Regions from separate parts of the Homo sapiens genome. Here regions 1 and 2 are each linked to region 3. Evidence: promoter capture Hi-C in 16 types of primary human blood cells and fetal thymus (Javierre and others, 2016). All regions are on one chromosome and are shown on one strand. Each heading gives the region's core, a stretch centred on a gene start or on the middle of the fragment in contact. The rest is flanking DNA. Distances are from core to core; before and after follow the strand shown.

Evidence for each region. Contacts are between HindIII fragments. The CHiCAGO score rates a contact against its expected background, and 5 or more counts as called.
Region 1: the fragment with the promoter of KCNK7 here is called in contact with the fragment with the promoter of CNIH2 in region 3 in 1 of 17 cell types (naive B cells); the score reaches 7.0 in naive B cells.
Region 2: the fragment with the promoter of FAM89B here is called in contact with the fragment with the promoter of CNIH2 in region 3 in 1 of 17 cell types (non-activated CD4 T cells); the score reaches 5.0 in non-activated CD4 T cells.

The regions. Positions count from the first base shown.
Region 1 is chr11:65,594,509-65,597,208 of GRCh38, reverse strand. KCNK7 (potassium two pore domain channel subfamily K member 7) reads left to right here and starts at 1,409. Exons shown (of 3, transcript NM_033347.2): 1 at 1,409-1,755. The coding sequence starts at 1,437. The HindIII fragment of the contact is 15,508 bases long and covers 1-2,700 here.
Region 2 is chr11:65,571,288-65,573,987 of GRCh38, reverse strand. It overlaps FAM89B (family with sequence similarity 89 member B), which reads right to left and starts at 1,450. Exons shown (of 2, transcript NM_001098785.2): 1 at 1,028-1,450; 2 at 1-625. The coding sequence starts at 1,318. The coding sequence ends at 347. ZNRD2 (zinc ribbon domain containing 2) reads right to left here. Exons shown (of 4, transcript NM_006396.3): 4 at 2,100-2,597. The coding sequence ends at 2,254. RefSeq lists a silencer at 1,130-1,579. The HindIII fragment of the contact is 12,518 bases long and covers 1-2,700 here.
Region 3 is chr11:66,276,925-66,279,624 of GRCh38, reverse strand. CNIH2 (cornichon family AMPA receptor auxiliary protein 2) reads right to left here and starts at 1,450. Exons shown (of 6, transcript NM_182553.3): 1 at 1,088-1,450. The coding sequence starts at 1,168. It overlaps RAB1B (RAB1B, member RAS oncogene family), which reads right to left. Exons shown (of 6, transcript NM_030981.3): 6 at 2,133-2,700. It overlaps LOC107984340 (a long non-coding RNA gene), which reads left to right and starts at 1,100. Exons shown (of 2, transcript XR_001748274.1): 1 at 1,100-1,130. RefSeq lists a silencer at 1,345-1,674. The HindIII fragment of the contact is 7,021 bases long and covers 1-2,700 here.

The DNA of each region.
Region 1 (2,700 bases), core at 160-2,659, 680 kb after region 3:
CCTGGCCAATATGGTGAAACCCCGTCTCTACTGAAAAAAATATATATATATACAAAAATTAACCAGGCGTGGTGGCAGGTGCCTGTAGCCCCAGCTACTTGGGAGGCTGAGGCAGGAGAATAGCTTGAACCCGGGCGGCGAAGGTTGAGTGAGCCGAGATTGCACCACTGCACTCCAGCCTGGGCGACAGAGCGAGACTCCATCTCAAAAAAAAGAGTAGTAAGTTCCACCCACCTCCCAGTATGGTGACTTGCCATGGCATCTGGCACCCCTGACAGTTCTCTTCACACTGCCATGGGGGCTCTGGCACTCCCACACCATACCCTAGGGCAGGGTCCCTCCCTCGGCCTCTGTCCATTCTCTTCACACTGCCATGGGGGCTCTGGCACTCCCACACCATACCCTAGGGCTGGGTCCCTTCCTTGGCCTCTGTCCTCAGCCCCTCTGACGTTAGAGGAGTTGGAACCCAGGCTCCCCCTTCCCCTCTCCCAGGTGCCCCATGGCAGCCCAGACTCTGTGTCTGCAGTTCAGGGGCAGGGAGTCAGGAGGGCAGGCACAAAGCGTTCTCAGGAAGAACTGGCAATCGGGCGCAAGGGTATCATCTGCCCGGGTGCTCTGGGCACCCTGGAGTCCTCTCCCCACCTCCCACCCCCACCTGATCCTTCCCAGCTGCCACCATTCCTCTCCCACCACACCACCCAGGCCAAAATCACTCCATCCATGACGCCTACAGTAGCCCAGCGTAGGTCTCCCTGGACCACATTTATCCTCAAGGGCCTGTGTCCTTATCCCCCCTTCACCCCCAACTCTCCCCTGCCACAGCCAGCCCTCTGTTCCTCTCACACCCCAAGCTCATTCCTACCTTCACTGGCCTCTTACTCCCCAGCTGAAATATCACCTCCTTAGCAGAGCTTTCCCAGTGAGATAACCCCCCCGCTCCCCGCAGAGCTCTCCCATCACCCAGGGTGTTTCCTTCATGGAACTCATGACAATGTGAGGTTGCCATGTTTCTTTGCTAAGAGGTTTCTTGTGTAAACACCAGGAAGGAAAGGACCTGTGCCTGTCCTCTTCCCTAAGCACTTGAATGAATGAATGAATGAATGAATGTGGTATGGGTGCCTGAGTGAGCAGGACCTTGAATAAGTGTGAGGTCCTCTCTAGGCTTCAGCTTCCTCCGCCTCCTCCCCTCACCGCAGCCGCCTTCCTCCACCCATCCCCACCATCCCAGCTGCTGTGAAATGGGCAAATGTCTTGCCTCCAGGACCTGGGAAGGGTGATGCAGCTCACCTCCCTCCTGTTCACACCCCAGCCACCCCAGCCATCCCAGCCGGGTCCCAGCCACCCACACAGCACCTCCTCCTGGCCCCGCCCTGCCCAGCCCCTCCCAGGTGCCTGAGGTGGAGCCGCCAGTTCCCACAGCACCCCAGCGGCCTGCCATGGGGGGTCTAAGGCCCTGGTCCCGATACGGGCTCCTGGTTGTGGCCCACTTGCTGGCCCTGGGGCTTGGGGCTGTGGTGTTCCAGGCCCTGGAGGGGCCTCCTGCATGCAGGCTTCAGGCTGAGCTCAGGGCAGAGCTGGCAGCCTTCCAGGCAGAGCATAGGGCCTGCCTGCCACCCGGAGCTCTGGAAGAGCTGCTGGGCACTGCCCTGGCCACCCAGGCCCATGGGGTCTCCACCCTGGGCAACAGCTCAGAGGGCAGGACCTGGGACCTTCCCTCAGCCCTGCTCTTCGCTGCCAGCATCCTCACCACCACAGGTAAGAGAGCCAGGCAGCCAAGTCGGGGGGTGCGGCTCCAAGAGGCCATGGCTCCCTGGGGGCTTTGGGGTTCATGCAGCCCTTCCTTCAGCCCCAAAGAGCCAGATGGAGCCCAGGCCCTGTGAGGCCTGACATCACAGCTGGGGCTCCCCACCAACACACCCCAACTGGTGCCTCCACTTCAACTGCCAGGAAGGGTGTGGCCTCCCCAGTCCCACCCCAGGCACCCTTTGAGACCCAGGAGAGCTGCCCAGATGCCACAGCCTGTGGCCAGATAGGGGATACAATACAGTGGGATGGATTCTTGGATGGAAGCAAATAGAATGAACCTGGGAAGGACAGATCAGGACCATGGCCTCGGGTGGGGGAGTGAGGGAAGATAGGGGAGGAAGTCGGCATGAGATGCTTGTGGATCAGGAGGGCACAGACAGGGATGAGGGAGTCCTGCAGAGAAATCGCGTGGGCACAGGCCCAGGGAAAAGCAGCAATGAGACCCACAGCCCTGGGTTTTCGTATTTTTTGCCCCACAAAGTGTCTCAGTATTTTTTGAATTGGAATTTGTATTTCCAACTTTTTTTTTTTTTGAAACGGTGTCTGACCCTGTCACCCAGGCTGGGGTGCGGTGGTGCGATCTTGGCTCACTGCAACCTCCACCTCCCGGGTTCTAGCAATTCTCCTGCCTCAGCCTCCTGAGTAGCTGGGACTACAGGCATGCACCACCATGCCCGGCTAATTTTTGTGTTTTTAGTAGAGACGGGGTTTTGCCATGTTGGCCAGGCTGTTCTCAAACTCCTGACCTCAAGTGATCCACCTGCCTCAGCCTCCCAAAGTGTTGGGATTACAGGTGTGAGCCACTGTGCCCAGCTCATATTTCCAACTTCTTTTGGAAAATCAGGAAACCCACTCACACTGAGCCAGAATCCCTGCAAGGCAACATCCTGACTG
Region 2 (2,700 bases), core at 201-2,700, 710 kb after region 3:
TGGGAGCCAGGCACTCATCCCAATCCCAGAGACGCCAAGCGGAAGGGAAGATGCTTCGGGCCCCACCGCAAGGCTGAGGGTTGGCCAAGCTGGGGGTGCACACATGTGGAAGAACTGGAGGCCCAGTGCCATGAGCAGAGGCTGTACCCTAGATGCCCGCCCCAGTGCCAGCCAACCCAAGACAGGAGAAAGAGTTTGGCAGTTTCGCCTCTGAGGAATACATGCCTGGCCCTCCTGTGAGGTGAGGCGGTAGGGGGGAAGGCGCAGGCTCCGAAGTCTGAGGGCTTGCCGGAGGGGGAGTTTCTGAGCCTTTTGCATGGGTGCATGCCCCCTGCCCCCCAGCCCTTCAGAGGCTGATGTGGAAGGCATCCTGCAGCCACTGGTCACGGGCATTGTGCGTCTGGGGCACAGTAAGGGGTGGCGGGTCAGGAGGCAGGCTGGCATCGGGAGGCTCCTCGTCGTCAGACAGGCCCGCATCCGGTGGGTAGGAGCTGTCCGAATGGAGGGAGGATGACAGGTCCTGGCAGAAGCTCAGGTCTTGGCACAGGTGTTTGTAGTCCTGGATTGACTCGTACAGGCCCCACAGCTGGCACAACAAGGACATGTCCAACTGCCGCAGCCCCACCTGCAGACAACTGAGGGTGGGCTGGAGTTGGGGTCCAGGCCACCCCAGCCCAGCCCCGCCCCCTGGAATAGTGGGCCCCAGCCCATCTTCCCCGCACCTTCCTAAACGAAGTTTTTGTGGACATCAGGCACCACCTGCAAGCTATGCAACTTTAGTCATGACCCTCACCCAAAAAATGGGGTTATCCATTTAGCCGGATGAAATGAAGTAACGTCAGCAAAACATTTGAAAATATATGGTAACTACTGCCATAATTGGTAACTATCACTAATTATTGTTACCATAACCCTTGCAACCCAACTGGTGCCTGCAAGTCCTCTGAGACCCAGGCCGCCTGTCCCAGTCCCCTGCGTTCCTCCGCGTCAGCCCCCCGCCCAGCTGGCCCGGCGCCCACCCACTCACCATCTCCTTGCGCAGCGCGGCCAGCGCTGAGTCGAGGTTGACAGGACGACGCGGGCCGGCTGCGGGTCCCGCGTTGGCGGCGCCGGCGGCGTGGCGGGGCCCGTCCGGGGCGCGGGCGGCGCGGCTCAGCTCGTCGTGGATGCGGCTGCGCTGGCTGTAGACGCGCTCCAGCTCCCGCCACGAGCCCCCGCTCGCATTAAGGAGGCCGCTGAGGCCGCGCGGCAGCGGTGGGAGCCCGGCCAAAGCGCAGCCCGCCCCGCCCGGCGCCTCTGCCGAGGGCAGCCCGTTCATGGCCGGGGCCGGCGCGGACGGCGATGCCACCTCCTTCCCTCCAACGCTCCGCCCGGGCCGCCGCCCGCAGGCCCCGCACCCCGCGGCCCCGCCGGAGCCCAGCCGCCGCCCGCAGGCCTCGCTTTGTTCCTTCCCCAGCTCCTCAGACTCCGCCTCTGCCCCACCCCCTCTGGATGGGCCGGGCCTCTCTTAAAAAGGCAACGGTTGTGGGACCACGTCGCGCAAAGCTGAGAAAAGGCAACGGGACATCCACTCACTCAAGGGGAGATGGAAAAATGCGGCGGAGGGGGGAAAAGGCTGAAGGGGGCAGGCGTGGTTTCTTCACGGTTCTTTTTGCTACCCCGTCTCCCCGCCGCGCCCCGCCCCGCCCCCACACCCAAGGAAAATGATCTAACAGTGGAGTCAGGAGACTGGCAAGTCCACACTTGGTGCCTAACGTGCCACCTGACGCTGGGGTCACCACAAACTCCTGTCGGTGTCTGAGTACCTGGGGTGGGCATGAGATGGGATAGGCTGATAGGGTCAGGATGCTCAGGGGAAGGAGGGGAATCTATCAAGGGGATCGGAACACAAAACCTCACTTCCAGGTGGGGAATGGACACCAGATGGCGGAAGAGGCTGCAGAGGTGCTGCCAGAGACAAGGCTAGGGTCCACCCCTCTGGCTGCTACCTTTGAAAAGGCTATGGCTTCTTCCTTAGAAAAGGGGCATCACATAGTCCTCTACCTACTCCCTCATCCTGACTGGGGAAACTGAGAAGAAACAAGCTCAACTCATCTCAGGGCGTCAAGGAGAGCAGAGTGGAGAGGTGAAGAGGCCAAAAGCTGGAAAAAGGTGAGTGGAGCTGGGGCTGGCATGCACACTTGGAACCAGGAAAAAAACAAACCACACAGAGGAACAGCTGTTTTTCTAGAGGGTTTTTCTCAGGGGCTTCTCTTAGTGCTGTAGCTGCTGCAGGCTGCGCAGGGCCTCCGCACATGCGCGGATAAGGCCACACAGCTGGATGCTAGTCTCCAGGGAGGTGCTAGAGCCCAGTTCAGCAGAGGCCCAGGTCAGCTTCTGCAAGAGGGCTGTCTGTGTGCAGGCCATGACATCTGTATTTGGAGGCACAGCAGGAGCAGGTGGCCCCTGGGCTGCCTTGAGTCCTGCTGCAGCTCCCTCACAGTGCTCCGGACGAGGTACTGGGGGCTGGGGCGCAGGTCGAGAGCCCAGGGGGAGCTCTGAGGCTGAGGCCAGCTGGTGCTCCCGAGCTTGGGAGAGGGCAGCCTGGGCATTCAGAGCTAAAAAGAGGAGAAAGTGGGTGGAATGGTCAGGATGCCTGGCCCACCTCAGCCCTGAGCCATCTCCTTTTCTGCTCTGCTCTTTCTGTGCTTGAGGTGTTTT
Region 3 (2,700 bases), core at 201-2,700:
GAAGGAGGGAAGGGCTATGGGAAATGGGATTGAGGGAGGGATAAGAGGACCCCTGAAAGGGAATGACAATCAGGGAGGTGTGCGCGGGAGGTGTGAGCAGAGGATGCTGAGCTGAGCCAGCCAGGGCCGAGCTGGGCAGGCTGTTACAGAAACAGGCACGGGGTTTGGGTGGGGGTGGGGACGGAGGGCAGTAAAGTGGGGCCAGGGGCCCCCAACAACCAGCTGGAGGCTGATTGATAGTTCTGTAGTGAGGGGACGGGAGCCAGGCAGAGGAGGCCCTGGAGGAGAGGAGCGGGAGGGGAGGAGGAGGGAGCCTGGGGGAAGCGATGGGTCGGATGCAGGATGAGGAATGGACATTTTGAAGAACCAGGTGTGAGGCTAGGCCAGGGCGAGGGACAGACCAAGGGGTATGTGAGAGACAAAGGGGAAGGGGGACAGGAAGAGGAGGGAAGCTGGAAAATGGAGAGGAAACCTGGGGGGCTGGGAAGCCCCCAACAGGAGGGGTAGGGAAACCCAAGGTGAGCCGGTGGTGGGGGCTAGGTCTCTGGGGGCTGATGAGAGCCAACTGCTGCTTGGTCAGGGAGGGGGCTGGGAAGGCAAAGGGTTAATGGACTCTGAGATCTGTGGGTCCTGTAAACAGATGCAGTTGCCATAGCAACCAGCTCCATCACTCTGGCTGGAAAAACCCACAAAGGCGGGGGGGGGGGGGCAGCAGACAGACAAACTGCCCGACGGACTAATGGAGGCGGCTGGATGGTGGTGGGGGGGGACATAGAAGATAAAGCAACAAAAATGCCAGAATTCCACCCCCCACCTCACGGGCTGCATGGGAGCAGAGGACGAGGGCAGAGGAGGGGGTCAGAGACCGACTGACATACACACAGACAGGCGGGGGCGGCGGAGGAAGGGGGGCCCCGGGAAGAAAGCCGACCACGGGGGGTGTTAATGGGGGCGAAGCCGACAAGCCGACGGCTGGGGGATAGCAAGTTTCCCCTGGGCTCTGAGACCACCCGCCCTGGGTCCCTCCAGCTCCGCGTGGCCCCTGCCCCCCACCCCGCCCCCAGCCCCAGCCCCAGCCCGGCCTTACGTGCCAGATGACAAAGAAGATGAGGGAGGCGCACAGCACCAGGGTGAGCATGTAGCAGAACGCGGCGAAGGTGAACGCCATGGCCCCCGCGCCGGGCGGCGGCCCGGGGGGCGCCAGCGCGGGGCCCGGGCGCAAGGGGACGCCCCCCGGCCCGCGCTTAGGGCCGGCCGGGCATGGCCCGTGGGGCTCGGGGGACGTGGGTGATGCGGCCGGGACCGGGACCGCGGGGCCGTGGGGGGCGCGGGGCGCGGGCCGGTGGGCTCGGGGGGCGCGTCCGCTGCCGGCTGCCCGGGCCCCGATCGCTCATCCTGCGATCCCTCGCCCGCGGCTCCCTCGCTCTCCAGCCCGCGAAGCCGGCGGGGCGGAGCCGGGGGCGGGGCCGCCGCGCGAGCGGCCTCGGGCGGGGCTGGGTCTCCGCGGGCCCCTCGTCTGCCCGCCCGGCTCGGGCGCCACCCCCAGCCCCGACAAGCCCGCGGCCGTTCACCCTCCGGACAGCGTAGACGCGGCCGCCCCCGGCACCCCGCACCCCTCGGCACTCCAGCCACCGGCACAGCCGCACTCGGCCCCCTCGGGCGGGCGCTCAGGGCAAAGGCTGAAGTGCGAGGCACTTGTCACTGTCGGAGACGGCAGAAGCACCTGGCTGGGACACACAATGACGCCAGGACAGGGGCTGAATGGGAGCAGTGGGGTTTTGGGGGGCGCTGAAGGAGGTTGGGCCAGGTGCAGTGGGGGCCCTCTCAGCGGCTGCGCGACCCCACACCTCTGCCGTGTGCCCCGCGGGAGTTGGCGGCGGCACGCCAGGTATGAGCTGATGGCCGCCTGCCTCTTTCCCTGACAGAACGGTGCTGGGCCCTTGGGGACAGACCACAGAAGCACAAGCAGCTTTCCTGGCCTCAGGAAACGGGGTCAAGGGCTTTTGCCAGCAGCCTTAGGACACAGAAACCAAGCCAGGACCCCCGTGCACCCCACCAAGCCCAGGGTTCCAGTTCCATCCCCCCACCCCAAGGCTGGGCTTAGACCACAGACCACACTTGGCCACCACAACTTCCTTGCAAAAACCCTCAGCTCACCCGAGGGCCAATGGAAATTTATTAATTTTTTTTGTCCTTTTCCATCTTTCCCCAAGTGGCTTTTCCTTGCAAAATGCCTGACATGACACCAGAGGGGAACCTGGGAGCGGGGGGCACCCCAAGGGGGCAGCCCAGGGACTTAAATACAAGCTGGAGGGCAGGGCACAGGTGGGACAGGCAAGAGACAGCACGAGGGACATGGCTTCTCAGGGAGACCAAAGACTTGCTTTCTTGCAGGAAGCAGCTGTGCCAGAGGGCAGGGGACTAGGATCCTGGGTGCAGAGTGGGTGAGCAGAGAGGCCCCCAATCCTGGATGGAACCCACATTCCCCAGAGAAGTAGCGGCAGGGGATGAGGGCCTTCCCTGGTGGGCTCCAGAGACGGAGTGGGGAGTGAGCCAGATGTGCTACCTTGGGGAAAGGGAGGAGGTGCTAGCAGAGTGAGGGTTAAGGCTGGTGCCCAGCCTCTGGCACGGTGGGCCTTCCGCCTCCGCCTGACATGGGGACAAAGGGGCACGGTGGGCAGGCAGCGCATGGGTCTGTCT